Regions from separate parts of the Homo sapiens genome. Here regions 1, 2, 3, 4, 5 and 7 are each linked to region 6. The links are contacts of gene promoters, found by promoter capture Hi-C in blood cells and fetal thymus (Javierre and others, 2016). All regions are on one chromosome and are shown on one strand. The core of a region is centred on a gene start or on the middle of the fragment in contact, and the rest is flanking DNA. Distances in the headings are between cores, read along the strand shown. Region 1 has its middle 11 kb from the start of BACH1-IT2. Region 2 has its middle 39 kb from the start of BACH1-IT2. Region 3 overlaps LOC107985486 (a long non-coding RNA gene). Region 4 overlaps LOC107985486 (a long non-coding RNA gene). Region 5 has its middle 8.6 kb from the start of BACH1-IT2. Region 6 holds the start of LTN1 (listerin E3 ubiquitin protein ligase 1). Region 7 overlaps BACH1 (BTB domain and CNC homolog 1).

Region 1 (2,700 bases), core at 161-2,660, 390 kb before region 6:
CTTCTGACAGAGTGACTACAATGACAGGTTGAAGAGTATTTAATGATATATAAAAGAGCAAGACAATAGAGGGAAATTTGACATTTATAAAGGGGAATCTTTTTGAGTGGGAAGAATACAGGTAATTTTCATTTTCCTCTTTATGTGGGGCTTTATTCTCTAAATTTTCTATAATAGGAATATTTTAATACTAAGTACAGTTGTATTTCAAAAATAAACAGGATAGTAGGCAAGCAGTTTTACACTGAGTTTAAGAGCAATCCTATTAAACAACGGGGAGACAAATTTAGCATTCATTACAATGGATTGTCAACTGAAACTCATTGATTCAAATATGTTAAATATTTTAGATATATACAACGTATCAAATCTTTTAGTATATTAATATATAACAGAAATATATATATTAAATGTGTAAGTTCATAATGATATTTTGAAAAATGAAAACCACACTAATCATTTTTGGCTGTTGCTGGACTCATTGCTCTGAAATTGGATAAATAAAGGTACAGAATACAGCATTTACCTTGCCTCTCATTTATGAACTGTGCTTCAGGTTAACCAAATAGATGTGAGGGAAAGTTCTTCTCCACAGAAGAATTCTAATTAAAAAAGAATGATTATTAGAAAAATAATTCGAAAAATGTCATTTTGCAACCCCTGCCGAGACAATGGATTTTGGCAAGAATCATAAATGGTAGTTGATGGGAAAATTGATAATGGGTGAATGATGACATCTAAACCCATCAACTTCAGCATCATGAAAAGTGGGACAAGTAGACATTGGGTGCCTGTTGATTTAAACACTGCCCATAAAATATTTTTGCCCCCTGAAAAAAATAAACCTAAATTTAATTGTGTTTCTTGACTTAACTGCCAGTTAACAAGAAATATGGGGTATATAAACAATACCACAGGATACAATCACATAAGACCAGGATGTGGGAAATTCAACTGGAAAAATGACATATTTTCAACAAATAAATGGCTTGAAAAAAAGGGGGAAGAGAAAGTGTTAAATAATAATAGAGGATTAAGAGATATATCAACCAAAATCAACAAAGGAACTCATACAGCTCCTGATATGAACAAATGTACTATTCAAAATTTTTTTGAGGCCGGGCACGGTGGCTCACGCCTGTAATCCCAGCTCTTCGGGAGGCCAAGGCGAGTGGATCACGAGGTCAGGAGATCGAGACCATCCTGGCTAACACGGTGAAACCCCATCTCTACTAAAAATACAAAAAAATTAGCCAGGTGTGGTGGTGGGCGCCTGTAGTCCCAGCTACTTGGGAGGCTGAGGCAGGAGAATGGCATGAACCCAGGAGGCGGAGCTTGCAGTGAGCCGAGATTGCGCCACTGCACTCCAGCCCGGGCAACAGAGCGAGACTCCATCTCAAAAAAAAAAAAAAAAAAAAAAAAAAAAAAAAAAAAATTGAGACAAGGCAATTTGAACATGGACTGATGATATTTAAAATAATAATTTTGTTAAGTATGGTGATACTATTGTGGTTATATTGTCTTAAAGCCCTTATCTGCTAGAGATTCATATTAAAGTATTTACCAATAAAATTAGTGAAGTCCTGGTCATTTTAGACCAATTGTTCCAGAAGTGACTGTTAACTTCCTAGACTGTTGCCAGTGATAGCATGTGACCCCCTCCAACTCTGACTTAAAGCAGGCTGGTTTCCTGGGCTGTTTGTTGGAAACAAGGGGTTGGTTTTCTGGGCGGGCAGGTGTAAGCTGTTCTATTTTTATATATGCTCTGGTTATTGTCTTTGTATATGTGCCTCTCATTTCCAAATCAATTATCATTTAATGTGCCACTGAACTCTTGGTATAATTCAGATCCAGAATAGGGAGGCTACTTCTATGGAAATGTAGTTCCCACAGCCAGGGGAGGCTTCACACAATTCCACTTGGATGAAGGTCTACATACGTGGAGACGAGCTGAGAAATGGTGGTAAGAAACAAATTGGAGTTAATAGCTGCCAGATAGAGATCAGGCCACAAGGAAACCAAGAGTGGGGACTGACTAAAACACAATTGACAAAATATTGACAATTATTGAGACTGAATTAATGGTACCATCAAGTTTTATTATGCTATTCTCTCTAATTCTGGGTATGTCTAAAAATTTACATAATAAAAAATTTAAAACAGAGTTGAAATGAAAAAGACAATGTACCATCAAAATCTAAGAGAGCGTTAAGACCAGAGACTCATAGAGTTCTTTCAGAGCCTTTCATCACCTGCAATTTTATATATCAATGTGCGCTGATGTTCCATTGGACTGACATTTGCCTGTTTCCAGGATAAGCTCCAGAATATAATTTGAGCCATCCAGCAACTCACGAAGAACTTCTTGCATTTGGCAGAGAAAGAAACAGTTGCTAGACTCACTAAAGTACCCATCCACTTCATTCTTCAAGCAGGTGAATGACTATGATGGGGTTAAAATTCCCAGCTAATTACCTCCCAGCCAGCATTTTAACTGGCTGACTCATACAGATTCCTTAAGATAGAGCAGAAGAACAAGAAAACATAAGCAGTAGCTGTGTGCAGTCAAATGTACAAATATTTAACTAGCTTACTCCACCAGTGCACAGTTTTAATACATAGTCTGAGAGCATAGAATGTAGATACCAGCATTGTATGTGAGGCTGAGACGTGGCAATTTAGCAAACCTTATGGAGTAAT
Region 2 (2,700 bases), core at 199-2,698, 420 kb before region 6:
ATTAGGTCCTACCCTAATAAGCTCATTTTAATTTAATCACTTTTTTCTTTTAACAGACCCTATCTCCAAATACAGTCACCTGCTGAGGTACTAAGGGTTAGGAATTCAACATATGAATTTTGGGGAAACACAGTTCAACCCATAACAGTATCTCACGCTCAGCTGGGGGCTTGCTAAGCAGTTGCAGCAATTCTTAAGTCCCTAAAGAAGGATACGGTGGAATTGCTCTCTGGAGAGCATGACATGGATAAGCTAGAATTTAGGGGTTTATATGAACATAGAGGCTGGTGCCTGCCTCCCGCCAGAGAATGTAGACAGTGAGAGGCTGGCAGGAGGAAGGAAAGGAGCACCGGAAGCAGCCCACATTTGGAACGGCAACGAACCATGCATTTCCGGTGGGTTCGGTGAACTCCGGAAGGGAGCCAAGCTTGAGCCATCTCGATGGGATGCAGCACACTAGACGGTACCACCGGAGGCTTGGAAAAGGCCAACTGGGTATTGCATCTCTTGACACCCTGTGCAGAGCCCACGTGGAGCACACACAGACCATCTGCACCCCACAAATGAGCCAGCGTTTGGAGGCCCAGCACACATATTATCACCAGCCAAGAGAAACCCATAAATATCATGAACGGAGTAAAAATGCCTTTCCCCCTTTCATGCTAACCCCTGCTTCCCAGTTCTGGAGGAGCCAGCAGCAGGAGTTGGGAAGAGAAGCAAAGGAGAAAGGAATTGCATAAGAAAAGACCACACCTCTTTCCTAGCCTAGATCAGACCTGAGTTGAGGGAAGGTGAGAAGCTCAGAATTGGATCTGAGCCTGAAGTTTTTATTTAGACTGGGCTGTTTAATACCAGACACAGTGACTCTTAACAAAATAGGACTTGTCTAACAAGTCAAAAGGACAAGAAAGCTATGTGATTTTCCTCAGATCTCATTCAGGGATAAGGAAAAGGGATCAAACAGACCACATTTAAATGCAATAGACGATGAAAAATTAAATCGTTCCCTAGTTCTACCCCCGCTCAGTTTAGCTCACTCAATAAACCAACAGCACTTCATGTTCTCACGTACAGATTATGGGGGGAAGAAGATTCTGAACTGGCCCCCTTCCCAGAAATCTCCTAAATTATTTTGTACCCTGTTATCAAATTAATATTCTCTAGACATTACTTCTATCTCATTATTCCTCTGTCCAAAATTCTCCAATGACTCCGTAGCCTAAAGGATAAAGCCCACGGTTTTCTTCTTGCTCCAAAAGACCTTCCCCACCAATGCTCACCTCCAGACAGCTCATGAGTCTTCTTTCCCTAGGAAAACCACATTCCAATCTTAGGGTTTGGGAGGGCCACCTCATGGTTTTCCAGGAGTCTTTTCATCGTGGCCTGGGAGGGTTTGAAATAAAGATTGTACCTCAGTGACATAGGTCAAGGAACCCAAACCATCCTCCTCCTCATTCAACCATAAACAGCCCATATTGGCTTCTGTGTATGAGAAATTGAAGGCTCTCCCTTGTCCCAGCTTCCTTAAAGAGTTCCTTAAAGAGTTCATGTTACCACTAAACAGAGTCCCCCTGTTCTTCTAACTGTCATTTCTCACGTTATGGGATGTACATCAGGGCCTCATCATTATTCTCTTTCATATACCTGGACCTTATTACATAGGAGCTCAAAGTCTAGCTCTTTACATTTCTCTTAATCTTCTTTGATACTAAGTGAGGCAACAACAACAACAAAAAGATAGTATAGGCCATTTTATTTTACTTTATTGAGACAGGGTCTTGTTCTGTTGCCCAGGCTGGGGCAGTGGCTTGATCAAGGTTCAATGAAGCCTCAAATTCCTGGGCTCAAGAGATCCTCCAGCCTCAGCCTCCTGAGTAGCTTGGATGACAGGTGTGTGACACCACATATGACTAATTTATATATATATATATATATATATATATATATATATATATATATATATACACACATACAGACAGTGGTCTCCCTATATTGCCTAGATTGGTCTCAAACTCCTGGGCTCAAGTGATTCTCCCCACTCATCCTCCCAAAGTGCTGAGACTACAGGCATGAGCCACCACGTCTGGCCCATGTAGGTCTTTTTAAATAGCCCTGAGCTTCTCAAGCCCCTACACCCCTCCCAAGTAGGAGAAAGGAAAACCTAAATGATTAAATTTGATCTCCTGAGGCCACATGAAAACGGACCCTCGAAAATTCACTGTACTTAGGAAACTCATGGACAGGTTATCAAACCTCAAGTAGCAAAGTCCCTGTAGAGTTTCCTTGGACTTCTACATTTTCTTGCAACAAATAATACATTTAAAGGTCAATGGATCTCATTCTTTATCAACCAAGAAAATATGTTTGCAGAATCTAAAATCTCATCTAGAGTTAAGATCAACATTTTTTTTTCTTCTGGTCCTTTCATTTATTTCTTTAAAATTGTCTTATCATTACTATGTAAGCTTGTACCTGAATTACAGCTTTTAATAAAGCAATGACACTTTTATTTCTCAGATGCCTGATGACCATATTAACCTCTCCTCATTTGAGTTATTAATTGCACGTTCTGTCCAATCCCTTTGGTGTGGCTTCCAAGGAGACAGTCAGAAGGCTTCTCAGGAAGGGAAGGACATGTTTATTGTTGGCCCTGTGGGAGTGTTTGCATAATTACTGGAATGATTAAAGAGGTCTTTTCTA
Region 3 (2,700 bases), core at 135-2,634, 460 kb before region 6:
ACAAAAACAATTCAAACATAAAATCTCATTTTTAAGTTCTTAGCTTTAAATATGCATCAACAGAATGTGAACTGCTATTTTCTCCACATGGGTCTTAAGCACTATACAAAGCATTGGCAGATCAGTATTACAGAAAAGTGGACTTGGTTATTGTCACACTGTCTCTGTCACATCAAAGCTATCTCTCTTTTGCAAGAACCAGTTTTTTTCTGTACTGCACTTTTTCCCCGGCCACTACATGGAATGCTCTGAAGCACTGATCAATTAGGGAAATTGTTTTAATGAGGGAGGTTGATTTTGTCATGTATGCGTTATCTTTCTCTTTTCTTGACCACATTATCCTCTGGGAATCAGAATGCTAAGTTGTTATTGGGAGTCAATAACTGGCTTGAAATTACTCTGAGAAGTTCACCCCTACCAAACTGCTTCATGGCAAATTATTGCTTACCACCTAGCATCTGATACATATATACCAGAGGGCATGCACACATGCATGTATAGGATGGCAATTTGCTGTACTTTAAATTTATTCCTTTCTTCTCACCTTTCTCACATGCCATCAAATCCCCCATTTCCTAGATGGAATGCATCTTTCTAGATGAAAAGAAAAAACTCACTGATGAAATGAGTACTAATTCATTTGCCTCACTGGTCGAAGAAGCCAATTAATATATGAGAAACATCAGCTAGCTTAAAGAAACGTGGAGTGCAGATAAAGACTAAAGAACCACGGAGTCAACCAAGTAAAGTGCCAACTCAAAATGATAGCAAAGAACTAGATATCTAGTATGTGTTCAATAGATGGCTAAGGGTGAGTTTCCTGATATTCTAATTTACTCAGGAGCAATCTGAATTTTCTAAGAGGATATTTATAATAAATTCCTACTGGTAGACTTTAGGCTATTATGTAAGACAGTAAGAGGTTTTTTTTTTTTTTATTTTTGTGCCCATTAAATTGCATCATGTAGTTGATCATTTAACTTTGTCTAAATCCAAGTTTGACCTGTTCGTCTATGTTCCACATAATTGAAAAAAGTACTGGGAGTAAATGAGGGGGATTCTCAGATGTGCTTACTGAGTTATGTTGGTCTGGTAGATGCTGGAATGGAGAGTGAAAGTCTTCAACTTTTTTTGTCATTCTATCGAACCGACAGGATGGAGACAAGAAGTAATACTCACTTTGCAATTAATCACAATCTCATCAGGAAGACTCACCCCCAACCGGTTCATTAAAGGCAAATAGACTTCTTCCAAAGCCTTAGTTTTCCTTTCCATTATCAATCCGGGGAAGAATAAATGAGATTAAAAATGTAAAGCAAAAAGGAAGAACTGAATAAATCAGCCAAAAAATAATAGGATCTTTGGGAGAAAATAGTTTTTTACAAAAACGTTCAGAAAGAGTATAAAATAAATATCTGAGTGTAGAGATCTAAGTACATATACCCACACTGACATTAACACACATGTTCAGCAAACATCAATATTGATTATGCCTCTGGAAACTATTGACTGGTGGGAAAATCAATATATATCTTGATGTTGACCACAACAAAATCAATAATTGCTTCATAATTTACCAAGACTCATGGGATTTAATGAACCAGATAGCTATGAAGTAAAGCAAAATGATTGTACTTTCTCCCCAGCATACTGGATAAAGGATATAATACCAGCATTAGACATTGGTAGCCATACCTTGTGTCACCCCCCTAAACCCCATCTTTATTGAATGAAGCAAGTGAAACATCACCTTTCCCAGAATTGTGGATGACAACTCTGAAATTTGAGCAAGGAGAGAAGAGTAAGAGAAAGAAACCTCAGGGAAGACAACACTCACAAGAAAACTGATTCAGTGTCACAGATGAATGTGGGCATTTGTGCCTGTGAATTAAACAGCAGTCGCCTGCTGATAAATATCATTTATCCACTTTGTTAGGCCCCAGTATTGCATTATATTGATTGTACGTTCAGCCTTTTCTAGTTTTTCACTTATTTCCAGAGATTAATAAATGCAGGTTATTCAAATGCCATGACTATCTAAAATCCAATCCAAAGGGACTTTAGTGGCAGATTTAGAAAAAAAAAAATGCTGGTACTCTTCCTGTCCTTCTTTAGGATCCCCTCAATATTTGCATCTACTTAAGAAAAGCAGAAGTAAAAAGATGGCCAACACTCCGCAGTGCAGACACAATGATTCATCTGCATATTAGGAGCTGGGCCAATACGACCAGTCATTAAAATCTTTCAGTTTAAGTCCAAAACAGAGAAGCTCTATACACTGAACTGTAGGGATGTGTGTATGAATTGCCTGATAAATATGCAGAATGATGTTTCCCAGTGCTCCTAAATGATATTAATAAGTCGAGCTCTGCAAGGAAAAACAGAGGTCAAAGCAACCAACAGAGTAAGCCAAAAATGGGTTCCCATTAGAATAAATTTCTAATAATGAATTTCTCTAGAAAACTGCCAGACTACCTTTATCTAAAACTATAGAAAAAGATCTGGTTCCCATTTTGTAGGGTCTACACAGGGAAATAATAAGTGAACAAATGTGGGCTGAAAGCATAATGGCTAATAATATTTCCCAGAAGAGAAGAAAGAGGTGAGCTGTGTCTTTACAGACATTGCCAATAGGTAAGAGAGGGCACAGAAACTCAAAGAAGCCTTAGATTTACTGAATGTAAGAGAAGGAAGAGGAGA
Region 4 (2,700 bases), core at 9-2,508, 450 kb before region 6:
TTCCATTATTTTTAAGTTGGTAAACCTTCCCCCAAACAGAGATTTGATAGTTTTCTTCTAAACTTTTAAATTTATATGATTTTTTCAAGTCTCTTTTATTCTTGTAGATTTTTGGGGGGTGTATGGTAAGAGGTAAGAATCCAAAGATATCTTTTTTTGTAAACAGATAACCAGTTGTCCCAACACTACTTATTAAATACTACTTTTTTAACCATTAGTTTGTGGTGCCTCCTTTACCATATATTGCAGCTTACCTATCATAGAGTTCATCTGAGCTACCTGGTTCTAGTGATTAGCCTATATCAAGCCCACACTGCTTAAGGAATCCAAGCTTCATAATACTTCTTAATATATGGTACAATTCTCCACCACTTATTAATATTCTATTTTAAGAAAAAAAATATTTTTCTTAATTTTTTTTTTTACAAAGTTTCTCTCAAAAGAATCCCATCTGGACTTTGAATTATAATATTAAAATGATAAATTAATTTGAAAAAAGATAATTTTTTACTATTTAACCCTACCTCCTGATAAAATGTACATCTTTCATTTGCTACAGTTTTACTTTAGGGCATTAGGTAATCTCTTACAGTTTTTAAAAATTTTTTAAATAATTTTTATTCAGGTTATCTTATTTTATTTATTTATTTATTTTGAGACAGTTTCCTTCTGTCACCCAGGCTGGAATGCAATGGTGCGCTGTCACCTCATTGTGACCTCTGCCTCCCAGACTCACGTGATTTTCGTGCTTCAACCTCCCGAGTCACTGGGATTATAGGCATGTGCCTCCATGTCCGGCTAATTTTTGTATTTTTAGTAGAAATGGGGTTTCGTTATGTTGGCCAGGCTGGTCTCAAACTCTTGGCCCCAAGTGATCTGTCCACCTCAGCCTCCCAGAGTGCTGGGGTTACAGGCATGAGCCACTGGGCCTGGCCTATTCAGGTCATTTCTACTAATTGCAGATTTGTGCTATTTATGCACATGGACATTCTATTTTATTATACTATGTAACCTAAGTACTTATAGGGTTATGAAGAAAAGCTAATCAAATATTTTATGTTTAACTTATATTTAGCCTCATTATTTACCCTTTTATAAAATTTAATATTTTTTGTGTTTATTTAAACTTCTAATAATATATCATAATCCATATATAATAAACATACCAATTAAATACATTAATATAATGTAATCCCCATATATTTAAAGTTTTCAATACTGTCACTTAGTTCCTCCCTCCACATATTTATAACCCCTTAAATATGTTTAATATTTCATTGTCTTGACTGGACATTCCAGATTGATAGTTAGATAATCCTGAGGTTACAAGTTAATTGATTTAATGATAATTAAATGTTTAGGTGTTCTTGAAAAACTAGTTCTTTTAAATAAAATCAATGATGAGTTTCCATAAGATGTGAAGTATTCTGGTGTAAAATAAAAGATTCTTTTGTAATTCACAAGCTCCATATTTAAAGAATGCTTAAAATGAAACCCATTTGCGATGTTACATGTAAAATGCCATGTATTGGAACCATGAATGAATTCTCAAAATCTAAAGTACAGTTACAAAGACTTCTCTGAGCACTTGCATTGAATCTAACAGACTGACACATTTTCTATGTGTTAGATGATAAAAATATGCAGTGGGTAGGAGCCTGTGAAAAAATACTCTGGTTAATTTATTATGAATTGTAACATACACAAAATTACCATGGGCAATACCATGTCAAAATTAATTTTAGTAATCTTGACATAAAACCGAATTTGTTTAAAAAAATAAGAGAAAATATTCTGGCAACCCCTCAGTATGGGCCAAAAATGAAGAAAAAAAAAAAGTGAGTGGTGGGAAGACATGTTGAGATAGACCAGAAAGCCAGTATATGTGGTAAACTTGCATTGCTGCCGAAGTCTGCCACTAGAAAATAATTGTAAAGATACAAAAAGTCACAGTAGGGAATTATCTAGCCAGAGAGAAGAATGTGGGGAATACAGACTTAATAAACGGTCTTTGGTGGGATCCAAGAAATCATTTGTAGCAGGATGTTAAAATGTGACCCTTCCTGCCTCATATTTTCACCTGAGACCCTAAATTACCTCCCAAGGATCCTTCGTGTGGCTAAAACCAGTTCTAACAGCCTTTGCCAGTCACCTGCCCCCATCAGAACATGTTAGGAAAAGCTTTTTAAAAAAGATGAAAAGAATATCTTTGAGCAGAAAGCTTTTTTATTATTTGGGCTTAGTTCCTTAGGACTGATCCCCAGGAATGAAATTATTTGTTCAAAGGGAAGAACTATTTGAAAGGAAATCCTCATGAGGAATGTGAAAGGAAAATAAATCTCGGGACCCCAAAATCACTAAGCCAAAGGGAAAAGCCAAGCTGGGAACTGCTTAGGGAAACTTTTTTCCCATTCTATTCCTAAGAAAGATAGCTACTAAGATAAACTCAAAGTCATCCCTCCACTCACTGAGATAAATGCATATCTGATTGCCTCCTTAGGAAAAACTAATCAGAAACTCAAAAGACTGCAAACACTTGTCACTTATATACTTACAACCTGGAAGCCCCCTCCCCACTTAGCATTGTCCTGCCTTTCCAAACCAAACCAATGTACATCTTACACATATTGATTGATGTCTCATGTCTCCCTAAAATGCATAAAACCAATTGTGCCCCAACCACTTTGGGCACATGTCATC
Region 5 (2,700 bases), core at 167-2,666, 370 kb before region 6:
ATGTTACATCTTTGTAACTAGGGGCATATGTTGATCCAACTTTTGATATTTGCAGCAGGAAATTGGGTTAAGAGCTGAATGGTCTCCCTTGCCTAAGCATTTATAACATCTATACAGTAGTGTTCCCCCTTGCTATGAATTAATACGAACAATGGGGGCAATGTTATTATACTTATGACAAGTTTCAATTTACAAATAGGCAGTACACCAGAAGTATGCTTTTAGGTAGGCTGAACTCAAAAGAACGTATTAGTTTAGAAATAAAGATATGCATAGTAGATTAAGTTTTCAGGGTAGACCACAAACCTCTAGTTAAAAGCCATACAGTGGTAGAAATAGTTTAGGTTTTTAATGCCAACTGGTATACATTTTTAGCATTGGACAATCACAAATGGACTTAAGAACATTGCTGTGAGTTAGCTGAGAATGTTAACGATCATTTGGCCTGGTTTTCATTAGAAAATGTAATTCAAATTGCTGTGGCAATGGTTGTGGATGCTTGAAGAAGCTTTGTTTTTGTTTTTGATAGTTGTTGCACTGTCAACCAGAAACATATCTCTATCTCCCCCTTTCTTTACTTCCATCTCCAGTGTAGCATTTAGAATTCTTTGGGTAGCAAGGGAAAGAAAATCCAACCCAAACCAATTCTATAAAGCAAATACATGGGCTCATGTAACAAACTGCACAGGTGCTTCAGGCAAAGCTTGATCCAGAGGCATAAGCACAAGCCCTGGCTCTCTCAGATCTCTGCTCTCTTATTCCTCAAGGTCCACCTAGTGACTTCGCAAAAGGTACTGGCCCTTCTCTCATGAGCACAGCTGCCAGCCTTATATGTTTATATCACACTCAGAATGCCGTCTATCAGTAGGTCCCTGGAGAAGGCAAGAGTTTTTTGTTTTTTGGTTTTTTTCTCAGTAACCCCGGACAATCTCTCCTCACAGCTTTACGGGATTTTAGTACCCATTCTGTACCTATGACTACGGTCAGAGAGACGGGATTGCCTGAATGATTTAATTGTACAGGACTGGGGCTATCAGATATGACTGTGCAGGTTGTGCACTGCACAACTTCAAGTTCACTATACACATTTATGACAATGCAGATGTGTAGTGGTCCGTTCTCATGCTGCTATGAAGAAATACTCGAGATTGGGTAATTTATAAAGCAAAGAGATTTAATTGACTTACAGTTCTGCATGGCTAGGGAGGCCTCGGGAAACTTACAATCATGGTGGAAGGCACCTCTTCTCAGGGCAGCAGGAGAGAGAATGAGTGCAGCAGGGGAAATGCCAGACGCTTATAAAACAATCAGATCTCCTGAGAACTCACTCACTATCACGAGAACAGTGTGAGGGAAACAGCCAGCCTGATTCAATTATCTCCCACCGGCTCCCTCCCATGACACGTGGGGATTATGGGATTACAATTCAAGATGAGATTTGGGTGGGGACACAAAGCCAAACAATATCAAGATGATACCCCTTGGAATTATCTGATGCAGTGACCCTATTTGGGACCCACTTCTAGAGATGGGAGTGGGATCCATATCACCTTAACACGTGGTTTTTGAGTTAGGGAGGCCGTTCTGCGCTGGGTAGAGAGGATATAAAACATGCTTGGGAGGCAGCCCGTAGAAGCCCACTACTGACAGATGGCAAGAAAGTGGCAGGGCCTATGCCCTTTCACACATTCCCTACCATGAAGTAGGAACCCTAGATAATTACAGAGAGAAGAAACCAAAGTAACTTAGAAAACACTTCATTCCACCTTTGAGTCCTAACATGTGAAAGTAAAACACACAAAATACTCATTCTCATCCATGTCATTATTTATGGGTTTCAAAGCATTTTCTGAGTCGGCCCTTCACCTACACAACAGTAGCTCCAGGGGACAGCTGGCAGATAATATTATCCCCATTGGAGACGTGAAGCAAGTCAGGCATCTCCCTGCTCAGGTGGAACCCATCTCCCGCTTACTACAACAGAAACTCCCTGCTTACTTCTGTGCTATGAGAGGGAGATCCTATGGAAAACGATGAGAGAGGGCAGGAAAGTTGAGTGACAGAGAGGCCAGAAGAGAAAGCACAGAAGGAAGAGAAGAGGAGATTCAAGGCAAGGAGAGGAAAGCTTTGGAACAATGGCAGCCACCAACCAAAGGTTCTGTAGTGGTTGACTAGGGCTGCCATAACAATGCACCACAGGCCGTGTGCCTTAAACGACAGAAATGTATTCTCTCACAGTTCTGGAGGCTGGATGTCCAAAATCAAGACATCAGCAGGGTTGGTTCCTTCTGAGGCTGTGAGGGAGACTGTTCCATGGCTCCCTCCTAGCTTCTGGGGATGAAGGTGATCTTTGATGGTCCTTGGCTTGGAGATGCATCACCCAGTCTCTGCCTTCCTCTCCACATGGAGTTCTCCCTGTGTGTGAGCCTGTCTCCAGTCTCCGCATTTTAGAAGGACATCAGTCATACTGGATTAGGATCCACTCTAAAGGTCCACCCTAAAATGACCTCGTTTTTACTTGGTAACAACCCTATCTCCAAATAAGGTCACATTCTGAAGTAGTGGGGGTTAGGATTCTAACACATGAATTTGGGGGGCACACAATTCCCCTCATAACAGGCACTAAGTCTTTAGAGCCGAGCGGAACATGATGTGGCCAACTAGCCACATGTGGCTACTGAGCACTTAAAATCTGGCTAA
Region 6 (2,700 bases), core at 43-2,542:
AATATTTTAATATGGGAAATTGGTCAAAAGGAATTATAAAAGGTAACAGGTAATCACTGCAGGTAGCAGCTACCATTCCTAGAGCTAGGAAAGGATGGAACAAAAGAAGTGGTTGGAGTCATCAGAACCTAAAAGCTTGAAGGAGGGCCCTGAACACCTTAGTTCAGGCCTATGAAGAATGAAGAGAGGGTGATGGCTGGCTGTTACTGGATCTCTGGAGCACAAAGAAGGGATCCCACGGTGTTGAGGCTCAAACTTCTGAGGAGGTGGCTCAAACATTGGCTATCTCAGGAGCTCAGGGGAGGGGCCGCATGAAAGTAGAATTCAGATCTCTGAGGAGAGCACTGACTGCTGCTGTGATCTCTGAGGGGTGCAATAAGGCTGATTCTGTGATTGTTGGAAAAAGGATAGAGATTAAAACCACCTTTTGGCTAAAGCAATTGCTCCTGCCACGGTAAAATGCAGCTGCTGCTGGCATGATGCTTACAGAATGGAGCAAGTCCCTTCTTCCTCTTGCCTTTGTTTCCCTCTTGTTCGTCCTGTTGGTGGAATCTAGCAGAAGCCCCCCCAGTAACATGGAGTTGAGTATAAAAGGGTGACTGCGTGGACAAGAAACAATAACCAGCACACATTTACTTGTTTCTCTGGTGTGATTCTGAGTCGCACAATCAATGGGTTACAGGATTTGTACATTTCAAATTTTAATAGGGACTCCCACATTATCCTCTTTCCTAAACTGCACGTTAACAGTTTCAATATGAATAAAAGGGGACGGGGAGGGGAGATTTAGAGAGAATAGTGCCTACAGCAGTAATCAAATTTTAACAAGACTTGGGAATACTGTCAAAATGCAGGATCTGATTCAGGAGTTCTGAGGGGCCCGAGTTGGCCTTTTCTAAAAAACGCCCAGGTGATACTGATGATTGCATCATGTTGGAAGTCTAAAACACTCCCATCTTCCCACAGCCTCTACCATAACATTCTAATGCTACCCTTATGTGAAACTGCCCCTCTGATGATTCACGCCAGTTTCCTACCCTCTAAGCAAGGAACAAACCTAGCTTCTGAAAGCGGGGAGGACAGGATTTGGCGCCACGGGTCCAATGCTTGGCTTCCTATTGGCCAGGAATGACATCACTCAGACAGGCGTGGCTTTAGCTGTGACGTCTCCGGTGGCGGATGGTCAGGGACACAGCGGGAGGCGGGAGCGGAAGTGGGGCAGCAAATGGACAGGGTGGGTGGCGGAAAAGGGCCCGGGGGAAGTTATTACAGGGTGTCCTCTTCCGCCGCCAGAAGCCGGAAGTTGTGTCCCGGACGTGTCAACCGGGGTCTGAGTGCTCAGAGTACAGCTGCAACCGCGACCATGGGCGGGAAGAACAAGCAGCGAACTAAAGGGAACCTGAGGGTGAGCGGGGGCTGGCTCGGCCGACCCGGGAGCCTCGCTTCGAGGCGGCTGGCTCCGCCCAGCGCGTTGCTGGAGGGTGTGTGGAGCGCGGCTGTAGGGAGGCGTGTGTTTCCCTGTCGAGTGTGACCTCTCTGTTGTGTGTGCGTCCCTGAGAGCGGTTTGTGTTATCTCTGAGCAGATTGGGGAATCGTGAGAGAAAAGATGTACCATGCCAGAGCTGTCCTCATCCGAGCACACACCCATAATATTCATGAAGAAATGATAATGTGTCAGGTTCACTGGAAGGTGATCTGGCCGAGGTAGCGGGTTGGTTGGGGGAGGGCGGCGCTGGGAAGAAGGAGAGTTGGGAGAATGTTAAAGTGAATCCACTGTGGAGGTTACCGCAGATTGTGCCTCTCCTTTGCTACCTACAGTGGCTTCTCCTAAGCTAAAGCTCTTAGGATGGTATATTTGGTTTCTGGACTGCCTGTTACCCCTTTCCATCTGCAGTCCCATCTTCAGCTCCCTCCTCTTGGCTTACTTCATCCAGCCACACTGATCTCTTCACTGTGCCTTGACTACCTGGCCGGCTCCCAACGCTCTTCAGTTAGGTGGCTCCAAACTTTGCTCTCGACACCTCAGTGAGGTCTCCCATGATCACCCTCTTGGTAGCCCTTCCCCACTCCCATGTTCTTCCTACTTTATTTTACTCCATTGTATTTATGACATTTATTGTCTTGGTTCACTAGGACGTAAGTATTTTGAAAGCAAATGTTTTTATCCTCGGAACCTAGAACAGACTGGCACCTAATAGACGCTCACTAAGTACTTGCTTAAGGACGACCTTAAAGTGGATTCGTGTAAAACTACACGATGAGGGGTTTTGTAATGGTATTTTTTTATGGTGTTAGATTTATTATAGCACAGTCCAATTTTATGAGAATGCTTTTTTTTCCTGTTTCTGATGTAGTTAATTCTAGTGATTTCAATGTCACATTTTCTTAGATCTGTCACTTAATCTGTTTTGGAAGATAATAACAGTATTAACAATTATAGCAACCTGTTGTGTTACTGTGCTAAGCACTTTACTTGCATCTTTTAATGTTTTTTATTTAACAGATTTTCTCAAATGTTTTATATTTGAAAAGTTCTTATGAGGAAAAGTTGCAAGAATATTAGAACGACATCCCATATACTCTTTACCTACATTTACCAATTGCTAATACTTGGTTGCATTTGCTTTCTCTCTCTTAATTTATGTATTTTTCTGAACTTATAAGAGTTAGTTGCAGAAGTCGGGACTCTTAACTCCTAAA
Region 7 (2,700 bases), core at 1-2,500, 350 kb before region 6:
AACTGATACAACCAATAGTTGGGTGTACACTGAGGTAGGAAATCAAGGGTTCCATTGGCTTAAGATTTTACATTTTGTAAACCAGAAGTTCTTATATTATTTTATATCGTGAAGCTGAAATTTAAAATTACAAGTATCAAAGAAATACCTATATGGAGAGATATATATGTATACATACACATACACACACACACACACACACACACACACACACACAAATTCTTTTGCAGTATGGGATGCACTATCAGAATTATTCTCCCTGACAAATTCTTGAGTGTACTTATAAAAGCTACTAGAAAATAAACAAGTCCAACTAATTTTCTCTTACAAATAAGTCAGTGACAGAGAGAACATACAAACCACTGAAAATATACTAGCAATATCCTCCCCCTACACCCTGATCAAAAAGGGTAACATTTGACAAATTACTCCAAGACATGAAGACTGGTCCCCATATACTCTCAAGGGCAAGGCCAACTTGCTTCAGACTTGTTCATACACAGTGGGTGGTGGCTGCCCACATTAGCTAGACAAGCCCTGCACTAGGCTCAGGATGCAGTCTATAGAAGTGTCTCTTTCAGCCCTCTGATTTTGGTGAAATCAACACTATAAACTACTCCTCTGTACCATTAAAACTGGGTTCTGCCAATGTTTCTGTGAATGTGAATATATGCATTTTTTTTAATTGCTGAGAAGATCCATAGCTTTCATTTGACTCTCAAACACATCTAACCCCAGCATGGCTAAAAGCCACCGCAAAATGTTATGCGATAGGTGCTCAGTTATCTATTTTGTAACAGGACTGAACAAACACTAAGACTGATCTTTAAATGTCCAAGTTAAAATGATTTGTGTGTCTTTATACCACACCAAATTTGGAGAAGAGAGCAAGGATTCAACCTGCTTTTCAAATGCAAACCCACAATAGAAAAAGATTGAGTTTCATCCTATTTCACAAACCTGCAGAGTTGCTGCAGATACATTTTTTATCTGTTACAATCATTTTTACAAGTGAATAATACGACTTCAAAAACAGGGTGAAAAAAATGAACTGCACTCCTGGTAAAAAGTAAGCAACATTCTTTCCCCGTGATGTCTGGTTTTCTGGCATTGGTGACCCACGGTGGAAAAATGAACAGCTTTACATGTTGGTAAGCTCTCCAGATTCTAGGGAGCCTGAGATAATGCTGCCAGTGTAATCACTCATGCCACTGTATTCTGAGTCCTATTTCTTCTTCCAAAGGGACAAAAATGCCAGGAAATAGGAAGTCCATGATGGGACCAGATATGGTAGAGACTGAAGCGGGGGGCAGGGAGGGAAAGTGACACTTAAATCTATTCATGTAGCCAGACTTTCTAGAGTCCATACTGAAGAGGAGAAGCAGCCCCCGTCTTAGGCCAACCACTTGCCTATTTACTAAATCTTCCCAATGTAGCTTAAAGCCTGATTTTAGGAGCCGAAGAACAAAGCCCTAAGATTCAGGTAAGACCATCTTTTTTTCACAATGCAGCTCTACAAAAATATTCCCAGTAGCTGACACCCTGCTTCTAAGAATAGAACTCTATTAGCATTGCTTGGGAAGAAATTTTCTTTCAAACTAAAATATTAGAAAAAAGTCAAATTATTAAACTTCTGCAGGCCACTTCTTTTAGTAGGAACTATCTGTAGATGTTTCAAGCTGTTAAATTGCTGTCTGATATGCTGCAGTTTTCATTCTCCTACTTATTCTGAATAGCAGGAAGAGTTATTACTAGAGTTATTATTCTTTAAAACATGAGTTTTAAAGGTTTACTACATTTTCACATGGATTTTTCTGATATCCAGGAGGCAAAATCATTTCTTTGTCTCTTGTAGAAATCAAGGAGAAATCATGGTTGACTTAAAGGAAATTCCCTTATGGTAAACTACTAAAGGAAAAAAACAGTATTGTTGAGCAACAGATGGTCATATTAGGCTTTCAAGACGCTGCCAAAACTTCAGGAGAAAATTAGATGGTTTGAAGGAAGTGAATGCAAGTTTACTCATCAGTAGTACATTTATCAGTCATCTGCTGACAGAAATCTGAGATCCCACCACTCTGACGACACTGTTCCGCAGGCCCAGCTTGCTCAGAGGTGGCTGTGGACATCTGCTGGGACTCCTGCCCTCGCGCGTAGCCAGGCTCACTGTTTCCTCTGGCACAGGGAGGCAGCACTGCTGGAGGCCGGTCAGATAAACTGAAAATTGATGGTAACGCCAGTTCACCATCAGGAGTACTTTTATCTTTTTCAGAAATTAAAAATGAAAGTGGGCAATCTGCAGCTGAGTACTTGGCGAGTATCTGTATTTGTTCTTGACTCAGAGCTGCTTCTTTACAAACTTTCTGGCAAAGTCCAGTTAGGTTCTGCTTTGTCTCACCCAGAGTTGACAAAATGTGATCTCTTTCCTTCAACAAGCTCTCCTTTTCACTTTGCTGTGAAGTGGGGAAAGAGAACACAATGGCTTGTGTTTATTAGCTCAATCAACATTTCCAAGGCGATCAAATAATATACAGGGGCTTCTCATCAAGTAAGATCACATGGAGTTTATCCTTTCAATTCCATTCAATTATACATTAAATACTAAAGGCCCAGAATCTCCCACCCAAAACTCTTGGGGCAGATGTATTTTGGCACAAAGCATTTTTCAGGTTTTGGAAAGACAGTATGGGTGCACACATA

The links. The method cuts DNA at HindIII sites, captures the fragments that hold promoters and counts their contacts. A CHiCAGO score of 5 or more calls a contact.
Region 1: a contact is called between a fragment that was not itself captured here and the fragment with the promoter of LTN1 in region 6, in 4 of 17 cell types (neutrophils, total B cells, monocytes and 1 more). The highest score is 13.1, in neutrophils.
Region 2: a contact is called between a fragment that was not itself captured here and the fragment with the promoter of LTN1 in region 6, in 2 of 17 cell types (neutrophils and naive B cells). The highest score is 11.5, in neutrophils.
Region 3: a fragment that was not itself captured here is called in contact with the fragment with the promoter of LTN1 in region 6 in 2 of 17 cell types (naive CD4 T cells and non-activated CD4 T cells); the score reaches 5.3 in naive CD4 T cells.
Region 4: a contact is called between a fragment that was not itself captured here and the fragment with the promoter of LTN1 in region 6, in 3 of 17 cell types (naive CD4 T cells, activated CD4 T cells and total CD8 T cells). The highest score is 5.9, in naive CD4 T cells.
Region 5: a contact is called between a fragment that was not itself captured here and the fragment with the promoter of LTN1 in region 6, in 10 of 17 cell types (neutrophils, naive B cells, naive CD8 T cells and 7 more). The highest score is 12.6, in neutrophils.
Region 7: a fragment that was not itself captured here is called in contact with the fragment with the promoter of LTN1 in region 6 in 6 of 17 cell types (neutrophils, total B cells, total CD4 T cells and 3 more); the score reaches 11.1 in neutrophils.

The regions. Positions count from the first base shown.
Region 1 is chr21:29,382,049-29,384,748 of GRCh38, reverse strand. No RefSeq gene overlaps it. Among named protein-coding and RNA genes, the nearest start is that of BACH1-IT2, 11 kb to the right of the region's middle. The HindIII fragment of the contact is 6,313 bases long and covers 1-2,700 here.
Region 2 is chr21:29,410,205-29,412,904 of GRCh38, reverse strand. No RefSeq gene overlaps it. Among named protein-coding and RNA genes, the nearest start is that of BACH1-IT2, 39 kb to the right of the region's middle. The HindIII fragment of the contact is 2,038 bases long and covers 430-2,467 here.
Region 3 is chr21:29,453,200-29,455,899 of GRCh38, reverse strand. All of the region lies in intron 1 of LOC107985486 (a long non-coding RNA gene), which reads right to left. Among named protein-coding and RNA genes, the nearest start is that of BACH1-IT3, 41 kb to the left of the region's middle. The HindIII fragment of the contact is 2,995 bases long and covers 1-2,700 here.
Region 4 is chr21:29,437,067-29,439,766 of GRCh38, reverse strand. The region is part of intron 1 of LOC107985486 (a long non-coding RNA gene); the gene reads right to left. Among named protein-coding and RNA genes, the nearest start is that of BACH1-IT3, 58 kb to the left of the region's middle. The HindIII fragment of the contact is 1,850 bases long and covers 334-2,183 here.
Region 5 is chr21:29,362,504-29,365,203 of GRCh38, reverse strand. No RefSeq gene overlaps it. Among named protein-coding and RNA genes, the nearest start is that of BACH1-IT2, 8.6 kb to the left of the region's middle. The HindIII fragment of the contact is 1,422 bases long and covers 706-2,127 here.
Region 6 is chr21:28,991,469-28,994,168 of GRCh38, reverse strand. It overlaps LTN1 (listerin E3 ubiquitin protein ligase 1), which reads left to right and starts at 1,292. Exons shown (of 30, transcript NM_015565.3): 1 at 1,292-1,405. The coding sequence starts at 1,364. LOC105372766 (a long non-coding RNA gene) reads right to left here and starts at 1,066. Exons shown (of 3, transcript XR_007067835.1): 1 at 1,038-1,066; 2 at 488-599; 3 at 1-387. RefSeq lists enhancers at 1,008-1,067, 1,378-1,487. The HindIII fragment of the contact is 7,723 bases long and covers 138-2,700 here.
Region 7 is chr21:29,342,152-29,344,851 of GRCh38, reverse strand. BACH1 (BTB domain and CNC homolog 1) reads right to left here. Exons shown (of 5, transcript NM_001186.4): 5 at 1-2,453. The coding sequence ends at 2,019. Among named protein-coding and RNA genes, the nearest start is that of BACH1-IT2, 29 kb to the left of the region's middle. RefSeq lists an enhancer at 1,533-2,700. The HindIII fragment of the contact is 5,760 bases long and covers 1-2,700 here.